2 separate regions of the Homo sapiens genome follow, and region 2 is linked to region 1. Evidence: promoter capture Hi-C in human tissues and cell types (Jung and others, 2019). All regions are on one chromosome and are shown on one strand. The core of a region is centred on a gene start or on the middle of the fragment in contact, and the rest is flanking DNA. Distances in the headings are between cores, read along the strand shown. Region 1 holds the start of OCM2 (oncomodulin 2). Region 2 overlaps SLC25A13 (solute carrier family 25 member 13).

Region 1 (4,873 bases), core at 2,374-4,873:
GAGTTTTGCTCTTGTTGCCCAGGCTGGAGTGCAATGGCATGATCTCGGCTTGCCACAACCTCCACCTCCCCAGTTCAAGTGATTCTCCTGCCTCAGCCTCTCGAGTAGCCAAGATTACAGGCATGTGCCACCATGCCCAGCTAATTTTATATTTTTAGTAGAGACGGGGTTTCTCCATGTTGGTCAGGTTGGTCTCGAACTCCCGACCTCAGGTGATCTGCCTGTCTCAGCCTCCCAAAGTGCTGGGATTACAGGCATCAGCCACTGCACCCGGCCTGAACTGTCTACTTCTAAGCCACTGTATGTTTCTCATTGCAACATGGGATCTATTTTTGCACTTTTTAAAAACTTCAGGCTGGGCACAGTGGCTTACGCCTGTAATCTCAGCACTTTGGGAAGCCGAGCAGGGTGGATCGCTTGAGTCCAGGAGTTTGAGACCAGCCTGGGCAACATCGTGAGGCCCCCGTTTCTACCAAAAAAAATACAAAAAATTAGCCAGGTGTGGTGGTGTGCGCCTGTAGTCCCAGCCTCCTGGGAGGCTGAGCTGGGAGGATTGCCTGAACCCAGGAGGTCAAGGCTGCAGTGAGCCGAGATCACACTACTGCACTCCAGCCCGAAGAGCAAAACTCTGTCTCAAAAACAAATAAAAATAAAAATGAAAAACAAACAAACAAAAAACATGACTCCAGCTTTTAAAAAGGAGATCCTAGGCCAGGTGCGGCGGCTCGCACCTGTAATCCCAGCACTTTGGGAGGCCAAGGCAGGTGGATCACTTGAGGTCAGGAGTTTGAGACCAGCCTGGCCAACATGGTGAAACCCCCATCTCTACTAAAAATACAAAAATTAGCCGGGTGTGGTAGCATGTGCCTGTAATCCTAGCTACTCGGGAGGCTAAGGCAGGAGAATTTCTTGAACCCGGGAGGCGGAGGTTGTAGTGAGCTGAGATCATGCCTCTGCACTCCAGCCTGGGTGACAGAGCAAGACTCCGTCTCAAAAAAAAAAAAAAAAAAAAAAGGAGATCCTGACACATGCCACAACACAGATGAACCTTGAGGACATTATACTCAGTGAAATAAGCCAGTCTGAAAAATACAAATACTATATGATTCCACTTATATGATGTCCCTAGATAAAGCAGTCAAACTCTTTTTTTTTTTTGAGGTGGAGTCTCGTTCTGTCACCCAGGTTATAGTGTAGTGGCGCAATCTCAGCTCACTGCAACCTCTGCCTCCCAGATTCAAGTGATTCTCCTGCCACAGCCTCCCAAGTAGCTGGGATTACAGGCTACCATGCCCAGCTAATTTTTGCATTTTTAGTAGAGATGGGGTTTCACCATGTTGGTCAGGCTGGTCTCGAACTCCTGACCTTGTGATTTGCCTGCCTCGGCCTCCCAAAGTGCTGGGATTACAGGCATGAGCCACTGTGCCCGGCCAGTAGTCAAACTCTTAGAAGCAGAAAGTACAATGATGCTTACCAGGAGCTGGGAGGTGGGGGAACAGGGGAGTTGTGGCAGCTCAATGGATACAGAGTTTCTGTTTTTCCAGCTGAATAAATTACAGAGATCTCTCATTCAATAATGCACCAAGAGTTAACAATATTGTACTATACATACACTTAAAAATGGTTGAGATTATATATTTTATGGAATGTGGTTTTTACCCAATAATTAAAAAGAAGAGTCTAGCACAGTGCTGGCCATATAAAGCCTCAATAAATGTTTGCTGAAAATTAAAAAAAAAAAAAAGGCCAGGAGTGGTGGTTCACACATGTAATCCCAGCACTTTGGGAGGCTGAGGTGGGAGAATTACTCGAGCCCAGGAGTTCAAGACCAGCCTAGGCAACATGGCAAAACCCTGTCTCTCCAAAAAATATGTATATTAAAAAAATTAGCCAGGCATGGTGGTGTGTGCCTGTAGTACCAGCTACTCGGGAGACTGAGGTGGGAGGATCGCTTGAGCCTGGAGGTCAAGGCTGCAATGAGCTGAGATTGTACCACTGCACTCCAGTCGGGGCAACAGAGCAAGACCCTGTCACAACAGAAACAAAATCTTGAGGTGTCTAGTCCTGGCCTCAGCCTCAGAGTATTTGTTTCTGAACTTGTTAGTTTTGGGGGTTGGGGATGCTGGTTTGATTTCCTCCTTTTTGCCTTTTGAGTGTGTGCAATTTATGGTATAGCTGGGAAACGTAAAAGTCAAGAGTTTTGTAGGAAAATCACGTCACTTAGCCCTGTCTCCTGTGCCGGACGAGTCCTGTGTGTGCACTTGGTGACAATGGCTTTGAGTCTTCAACTCCAGATTGAGGTCAGCCTTACACATCCATAGTTCCCAAAGCTGAAAACAGGCCTGCCTCCAACGGTACCTGCTAACATCTGGGGAGCTTTTCAGCTTACAGAGCACCCTGTATGTGTTTGTCTTAGTTCAGGCCACCATCTCCAGCTTACCAGGCTCTAGAACCTTCTCCACACTTTGCCAACAGGGTTCGTTTGCAGAATTGAAACCTTAGTTAAGGTTTGTTGAGGTTGTTGTTGTTGTTGTTGTTTTTACAATTGGCTATTCCCACCCACATTCCCTTGAGACATAAATAGAAAAAAAAAAGAGGTTTCCTGAGTAGGACAAGACATTTGAGCTGCATCCACTTGATCCTTGAAAAGGAAATCTAAGAGGTTGTAACTATCACTTTTTCTAGCCTATATAAGGTAGGTCAGTAAGGTAGCAAAAGCACATCTGTTGTTTTGCTCCTTCAACTCTTTTTCCTGATTCTTCCTGGGGGAAAACCTAAAACGGTGAGTAACTGGTGGACCCATCAGACCCCAGACTCTTCTTCACTGCATGCATTCATATTAGGCTCAGGTGCTTAGACTCCTGTTTTCCCATGGCTCTGACATCTGGAAGGATTTTAATCTCTGGGAGATGGGCTTTTCATCCATCTGCTTCCCACCTTTCAGGACAGGTAGCATGTCTTCTTCCACAGAATGTCTGCAAGCAGCCCAAACTGTATCCTTTCCCACGTGGAATTTGCAACAGTGCATCTCTCGGACTGCTGTAGGAAAATGCCAGTGCATTTGTAACATGGTTTACGGCTGCCTATGCAAATGACTGATTATGTCAGTATAATTTTTATAAGAAAACAATTGAATCCTTCTTTGGGTCATGTTTTTTTTTTTCATTTTTGGCATATATTCAAAAGAAGGCTCTGAGACAAAAAGGGCTGGGGTCTTTTTGGTATCTGGTTTTAATTTGGATATTCTGTCCCGTCACTTAATACAAAACCATGCTTATCACATTTTAAAAATTCTAGACAGGCCTGGCTTGGTGGCTTATGCCTGTAATCCCAGCAGTTTGTGAGGCCAAGGCAGGCAGATCACATGAGGTCAGGAGCTCGAGACCAGGCTGGCAAACATGGCAAAACCCCATCTCTACTAAAAACACAAAAATCAGCCAGGCCTGGTAGTGCGCACCTGTAATCCCAGCTACTCGGAAGGCTGAGGCAGGAGAATCACTTGAGCCCAGGAGGTGGAGGTTGCAGTGAGCCAAGATTGTGCCACTGCACTCCAGCCTGGGTGACAGAGTGAGACTCCATCTCAAAAAAAAAAAAAAAAAAAATCTAGACACACATACAGTTTCAGTGGGCCTGGGAAGATGTGTTTCCCCTGGATGTGCACGTTCCTGTTTGTGGCTTATCGCCTCTCGTTTATTCTGTGTGAGTAGGTAGAAAATGAGCATCACGGACGTGCTCAGTGCTGATGACATTGCAGCAGCGCTCCAGGAATGCCAAGGTAGAGGGGACGTGGGGCGGGGGTGGGATTTCCTCACAGCTTTGCCCCTCCAGCGAGGCAACACAAAATCAAAATGTAGGCCAGGCGGCCAGACGCAGTGGCTCACGCCTGTAATCCTAGCACTTTGGGAGGCTGAGGTGGGTGGATCACGAGGTCAGGAGTTTGAGACCAGCCTGGCCAAGATGGTGAAACCCCATCTCTAATAAAAATACAAAAAAATTAGCCAGGCGTGGTGGTGGGCACCTGTAATCCCAGCTACTCGGGAGGCTGAGGCTGAGAATTGCTTGAACCCGGCCTTTTTTGTAGACTCTGTCTACAAAAAAAAAAAAAATGTAGACCAGGCATGGTGGCTCACATCCGTAATCCCAACACTTTTCGGAGGCCAAGGTGAGAGGACTGTTTGAGCCCAGGAGTTTGAGACCAGCCTGGGCAACATAACAAGACTCCATCTCTACAACATAACAATAAAAATAAAAACTAGCGGGGCATGGTGGCATGTGCCTGTGGTCCCAGCTACTCTGGAAACTAAGGTAGGAGGATCACTCAAGCCCAGGAGGTTGAGGCTGTGGTGAGCTATGATCGCTACACTGCACTCCAGCCTGGACGACAGAGTGAGACTCTGTCTCTAAATAAATAAATAAATAAATAAATAAATAAGTAAATAAGAGCTTGGCTGGAAAATTCATGGAATCAGAGAAGAAAACTACTATTTATTAGATAACTAAAATTATAGAGATCTGGGATCTGAGCACACGATTACACTTCTGTAAGACAAAAGAAACCTACTAAACATGAAAGCAAGAAATCACTGAAGGGCCAGGTGTGGTGCTCACACCTGTAATCCCAGCACTTTGGGAGGCCAAGGCCGGTGCATCACTTGAGGTCAGGAGTTCAAGACCAACCTGGCCAGCCTGACAAAACCCTGTCTCTATTAAAAATACAAAAATGAGCTGGGCATGGGGGTGCATGCCTGTAATCCCAGCTACTCGGGAGGCTGAGGCAGGAGAATCAGTTGAACCTGGGAGGCAGAGGTTGCAGTGAGCCGAGATCACGCCACTGCACTCCAGCCTGGCGACAGAGTGAGACTCTGTCTCAAAA
Region 2 (4,873 bases), core at 1,755-4,254, 1.7 Mb after region 1:
GACATATTACAGAGTAACATAGTGAATTACACTTGGATTTTTATAATTGTTTTGTCAGCAAAAGCATGATATCCACTTTTAAAATGTCTGTAGGCAAATTTTGAAAAACAGTTAATTCTGTTTTTGGAAACTTTTTATCACATCAATTTTATATGCATTGAAAATTTAAAAGGCAGATACATAAACAAAAGTAACTTGTGATCTTTGTGTAGGAAGATAGATATTTATATATTTATTTATCTCTCAGTCTATGTGTCTCTCTGTATGTATATAATTTTTTTTCCCCTTAGGAGAAAAAAATACTGTTTTCTATCTAGTTTTTTCCCTTACCTGCTATGTTACAAATACTTTTTCCTATAATTCAGTGTGCTTCTATATTTTTTTTATTTTTGTAAATTATTTTGTTTCTTCCATGATGATTTAGAGGAACTACTTTTAAACCAGTACAAATATGTCATAAATAATATCTGGCCATCTTCTAACCAGTTGAGTAATTTCTTGCGCAGTAAGTTACCTCACATCTTTTGGTAAGCAATACGTTAAATTTGATTAGTAAAGACATTATACAGTTAATTAGGACACAATTAAAATTTGCTTTAAATATTTCTTTGAGGGAGTGGACACCACATTTTTACAATCCAGAGGTCTTTTTTTTTTTTTTTTTTTTTTTTTAAACACCTATTTGCCATGAAGTCATAGGAAATAGCTTCCAGCAATGCAAGCTCCTTCCCGTGAGTTCTCACAAAGTGTGCTTCTCTGCGTGGAGCAGGCTGACACCAGGTACACCTTCTTTTTCTGATCATTTTTCTTCATGCATTTCAGGAAGCTATCTCAGCTCTTAGAGTGCTTAATGTGCCCAGCACACACATTGATTCTCTTAGCAAGAGTCTTGCCCTTAACTTGTTGTTTACAACAGTGCCAACAGCATGCTGGGGGCATTGTAGACTCCTCTACTTTTGCCATGGTAACACTTGTAAAGCATTCCTTTTTGAACAGTACTCATTCCCTTAATGTCTACAATATCACCTTTCTTATAGATTTGCATATATGTGGCCAAAGGAACAACTCTATGTTTTCTAAAAGGCCTACAGAACATATATTGAGTGCCTCTCCTCTTTCCCTTTGTGTTCATCCCATTTTGGTGAATTACTGGAAGATGGTGGTTCCAGCTGAAAGGAACCCTACTACAATATTTTTAATGCTGCATAATATTCCTACATATGGCTGTTTCTGTTTTGCCCTAACTTATTGAAGCACTATTTAATTATTGAATATTTAGTTGTTTCCTGTGCTTTACTATCATGACAGCACTGTAATGATAGTATTGTACCTACATTTTTGCATATAGCTAGCATTATTTTCTTAGGATAAATTCCTAGAAGTGGCACCATTGGGTTAGAATGGGTTTAGAACATATTAAGGCTTGTGATTCCCCTTGGTAGACTGCCTCTCATGAAGGTTATTTCAATATTTATTTTGGGTGGGAACACGGAAGTGTTCATTTCCTACATTATATCAACTCAGATTATTATGAGTTTTTGTTGCAGCAGCAACAAAAAAGACTTTATGCCAATCTGTTGGTTGAAAAATTGTATCTTATTTAAAATTTTCATTTTTAAATAAATAGAGCAATATGTTTATTGGCCATTTATGTTTCTTAAATATGTTTTTAACTTTATTGTGACAATTTTCAGACATACAGAAAATAGAATAGTAAACACCCACATAACCACCATCTGATTTAAAGTAATACTTGTCATGTTAGTTTATACATTTTTTTCTGATTTATGTTAATAAATATAACTTAGCTATCACTATAATTCACCCTAAATAATTTAGCATAGAGCTTCAAATAATAAAAACAATCTCCTACACAGTCATAATACCATTGTGCACCTAATAAAGTTAATGATAATTCCCTAATATAAAATACCCAATCCAGATGCAAATCCTTAAATTATATTTTGTTCCATCCCTATAACAGGGAATCAAAGTAAAGGATGGGCAGATGCAGTGACCTGTTGTGTGCACCTTCTCAGTGGTTGGAAAACAATGTAGGGGATTTGTCCTTCAGTCCCAGGATATGAGTGATTCATGACAAAATGGGTAGCTGGATGATTATGGTTCTACCCTGGCTCATTCACAGCTTACAAACCTTTATCAATTTACTGTGACTGATGGTGAGCAGGCCAGATAGGACCCCTGCCCTCGGGGTATGGGCATTTGTAGTGATAGGTTCCTTCTGGTTTCCTTTGCTGTCATCTTCACTGAGTATGGTGGTATTTCTTGGTGATGACAATAAGTATTATACAAGGTTGCATGAGGAATCCTAAAACTCTTCCCATTTTGCAGGTGTATGTTTAATCATAATAAAACTCCTGAAAATTGCAAGGGAGGAAGGCTTCAGCTCACTAGTGAAAAATATTCCCAAAGAAGGATTAATGACATTTTAAAGATGTGGTGGATATAAGGATATAGTCCGTTCCCCCTATAGGGACCCTCTGCTCACTGCTGCAGGGAGAGCAGAGCTGCATTTATCACTACCCTCATACATATTTTTATTATGGTCTGCCTCTGTCCATCAATCCTAAGGAGCAACCTTTGACATGTTTACTTAAATCACAGAGCAGACTGCCCAGCCGTGGTGATGAGCTTGTTTTAAAAACTGGAGAAAACTATTTCTGTGCCCAGATTAACATGCTCTTATATTTAAGAAATGATTTCTTTATTGCATCTAAAAAAATGAAGCTGATAATATCTCTCAAAGACTTCTAAAATGTAAACTGTTGAAATATAAATTGAATGCATACATCACAAATGTACAGCCATGAATACTCAGAAAGTGAGTAGGCCCATGTAACGAGCATCCCAGAGGCCCTCTGATGCCCCTTCTGATCAGCACCCACCAAGGGTAACCAGTTGTCTGAATTCTGGTCACTGTATGTTAAAACTAACTGTATGTAAGTTTTGCCTGTTTATTTCACTTTGCGTGAATGGAATTATACGCTAGGTTTTCTTATGTTTCTTTTCTTTTACCCTTAGGATTCGTCTGTTGTCATATGTAGTTGGAGTTAGTTTATTCTTTTTTTTTTTTTTTTTTGAGATGGAGTTTTGCACTTGTTGCCCAGGCTGGAGTGCAATGGGGCGGTCTCAGCTCACTGCAACTTCTGCCTCCCGGGTTCAAGCGATTCTCCTGCCTCAGCCTCTTGAGTAGCTGGGATTACAGGCCTGTGCCACCATGCCTGGGTAATTTTTGTATTTTTAGTACAGACGGGGTTTCACCATGTTGGCCAGGCTGGTCTCAAGCGCCTGACCTTAGGTGATCCACCTGCCTTGGCTTCCCAAAGTGCTGGGATTACAGATGTGAGATGCCGTGCCCAGCTGGAGTTAGTTTTTTCTCATTGCTGTGTTGTATTCCATTGTGTGAATTCACCACAAGCCATTAATGTATCCTACTATTGGTTGACATTTGTGTTATTTTTAGTTTTTTGGATACTACAAATAATGCCGCTGTGGGCATTTTCACATAGTTTTTGTGTATATGCACACTTCTGTTGGTGATATACTTCTGATTGAAATTGGTGGGCTTGTGGTTGTATGTTCAGCTATAGCAGATACTGCCCAGCATTTTTCTAAAATGGTTTACTCCTTTATTCTCATACCATCAGTGTGTGAGAGTAACATTTGCTCCACATTTTTGCCATCACTTATTATTCTTTTTCGTTATCTTGGGGGTATGGCATGGTATTGCATTGTAGGCTTTTTGTTTTATGTTTTGAGACAGGGTCTCACTTTGTTGCCCAGGCTGGAGTATAGTGATGCAAACATGGCTCACTGCAGCCTCAATCTTTTGTGCTCAAGCGATTCTCCTGCCTCAGTCTCCCAAGTAGCTGGGACTACAGGTGCACGTTACCCTACCTGGTTAATTTTTTATTTTTTGTAGAGATGGAGTTCCGCCATCTTGCCCAGGCTGGTCTTGAACTCCTGGGCTCAAGCGATCTGCCCACCTTGGCTTCCCAAAGTGCTGGGATGACAGGCATGAGTCAGTGTGCCCTGCCTTGCATTGTTTTATTTTGCATTTCAGTGGAATTTTTTTAGGGAGCAGCAACTTGATAATGATTCTAAAGGTCATTTGTGGAAAATCAAGGAGTGATCATGGCCAAAAAAATTTCCAAGTGTAAAATAATTCAATGTCTTTTTTAAACCTTTCATTCTTTTAAAAAAATATTTATTTGAACATGTTTCACTATCTACCAGGTACTAGTCTGGGAATTTGAGGACACAGCAGTAAAAATGAGAGAAAAAAAATTCTGTCCTAACAGAACTTTCCCTCTAGTTATAGCATGTAATCTTGCAAGAGTAGACGAGACAATTGAAAAGGATGGTCCTGAAACATCTCTGACTGCAGTGATGACAAGAGCTGTCATTCGATCCCAGCATTCTCCCATGGAGCGTAGGTCAGCCTCAGAATACATGTTGGCCCTAGGAAGCCTTTGCCAGTTCATCAGAACTGGTACTGCAGATGGAGCCATTTTGTCACGCCTTTCCCTGGTGACCATATGATAATTAAGTATGTGATAAACATGGCATCCTAAAGACCTGGAAGAGAGAATGATTTGCTTTGTGTTCGTGGGACAACCAAGAGATTAAGTGGAAAAATTAAAGTTGGGGGATTCTTACCTTAGATCACACACAAAGATAAAGTACTAATGTACTAAAACTTAAAGGTAAAAGATAAACCTACTTTAAAAAAACTCAGATAAACTCTCTGATATTTAGTCTTGAAATGAAGAAAGACTGGTGATATGGCTTGGCTGTGTCCCCACCCAAATTTCACCTTAAATTGTAATAATCCCCACATTTAAAGGGTGGA

What was found. Contacts are between HindIII fragments. The study calls those that stand out against the background at their distance.
Region 2: a fragment that was not itself captured here is called in contact with the fragment with the promoter of OCM2 in region 1 in 1 of the 25 tissues and cell types used here (heart right ventricle).

What each region holds. Positions count from the first base shown.
Region 1 is chr7:97,988,946-97,993,818 of GRCh38, reverse strand. It overlaps OCM2 (oncomodulin 2), which reads left to right and starts at 3,623. Exons shown (of 4, transcript NM_006188.4): 1 at 3,623-3,775. The coding sequence starts at 3,715. The HindIII fragment of the contact is 22,202 bases long and covers 1-4,873 here.
Region 2 is chr7:96,279,619-96,284,491 of GRCh38, reverse strand. The region is part of intron 2 of SLC25A13 (solute carrier family 25 member 13); the gene reads left to right. It also overlaps the pseudogene RPL21P74. Among named protein-coding and RNA genes, the nearest start is that of SLC25A13, 40 kb to the left of the region's middle. The HindIII fragment of the contact is 5,403 bases long and covers 303-4,873 here.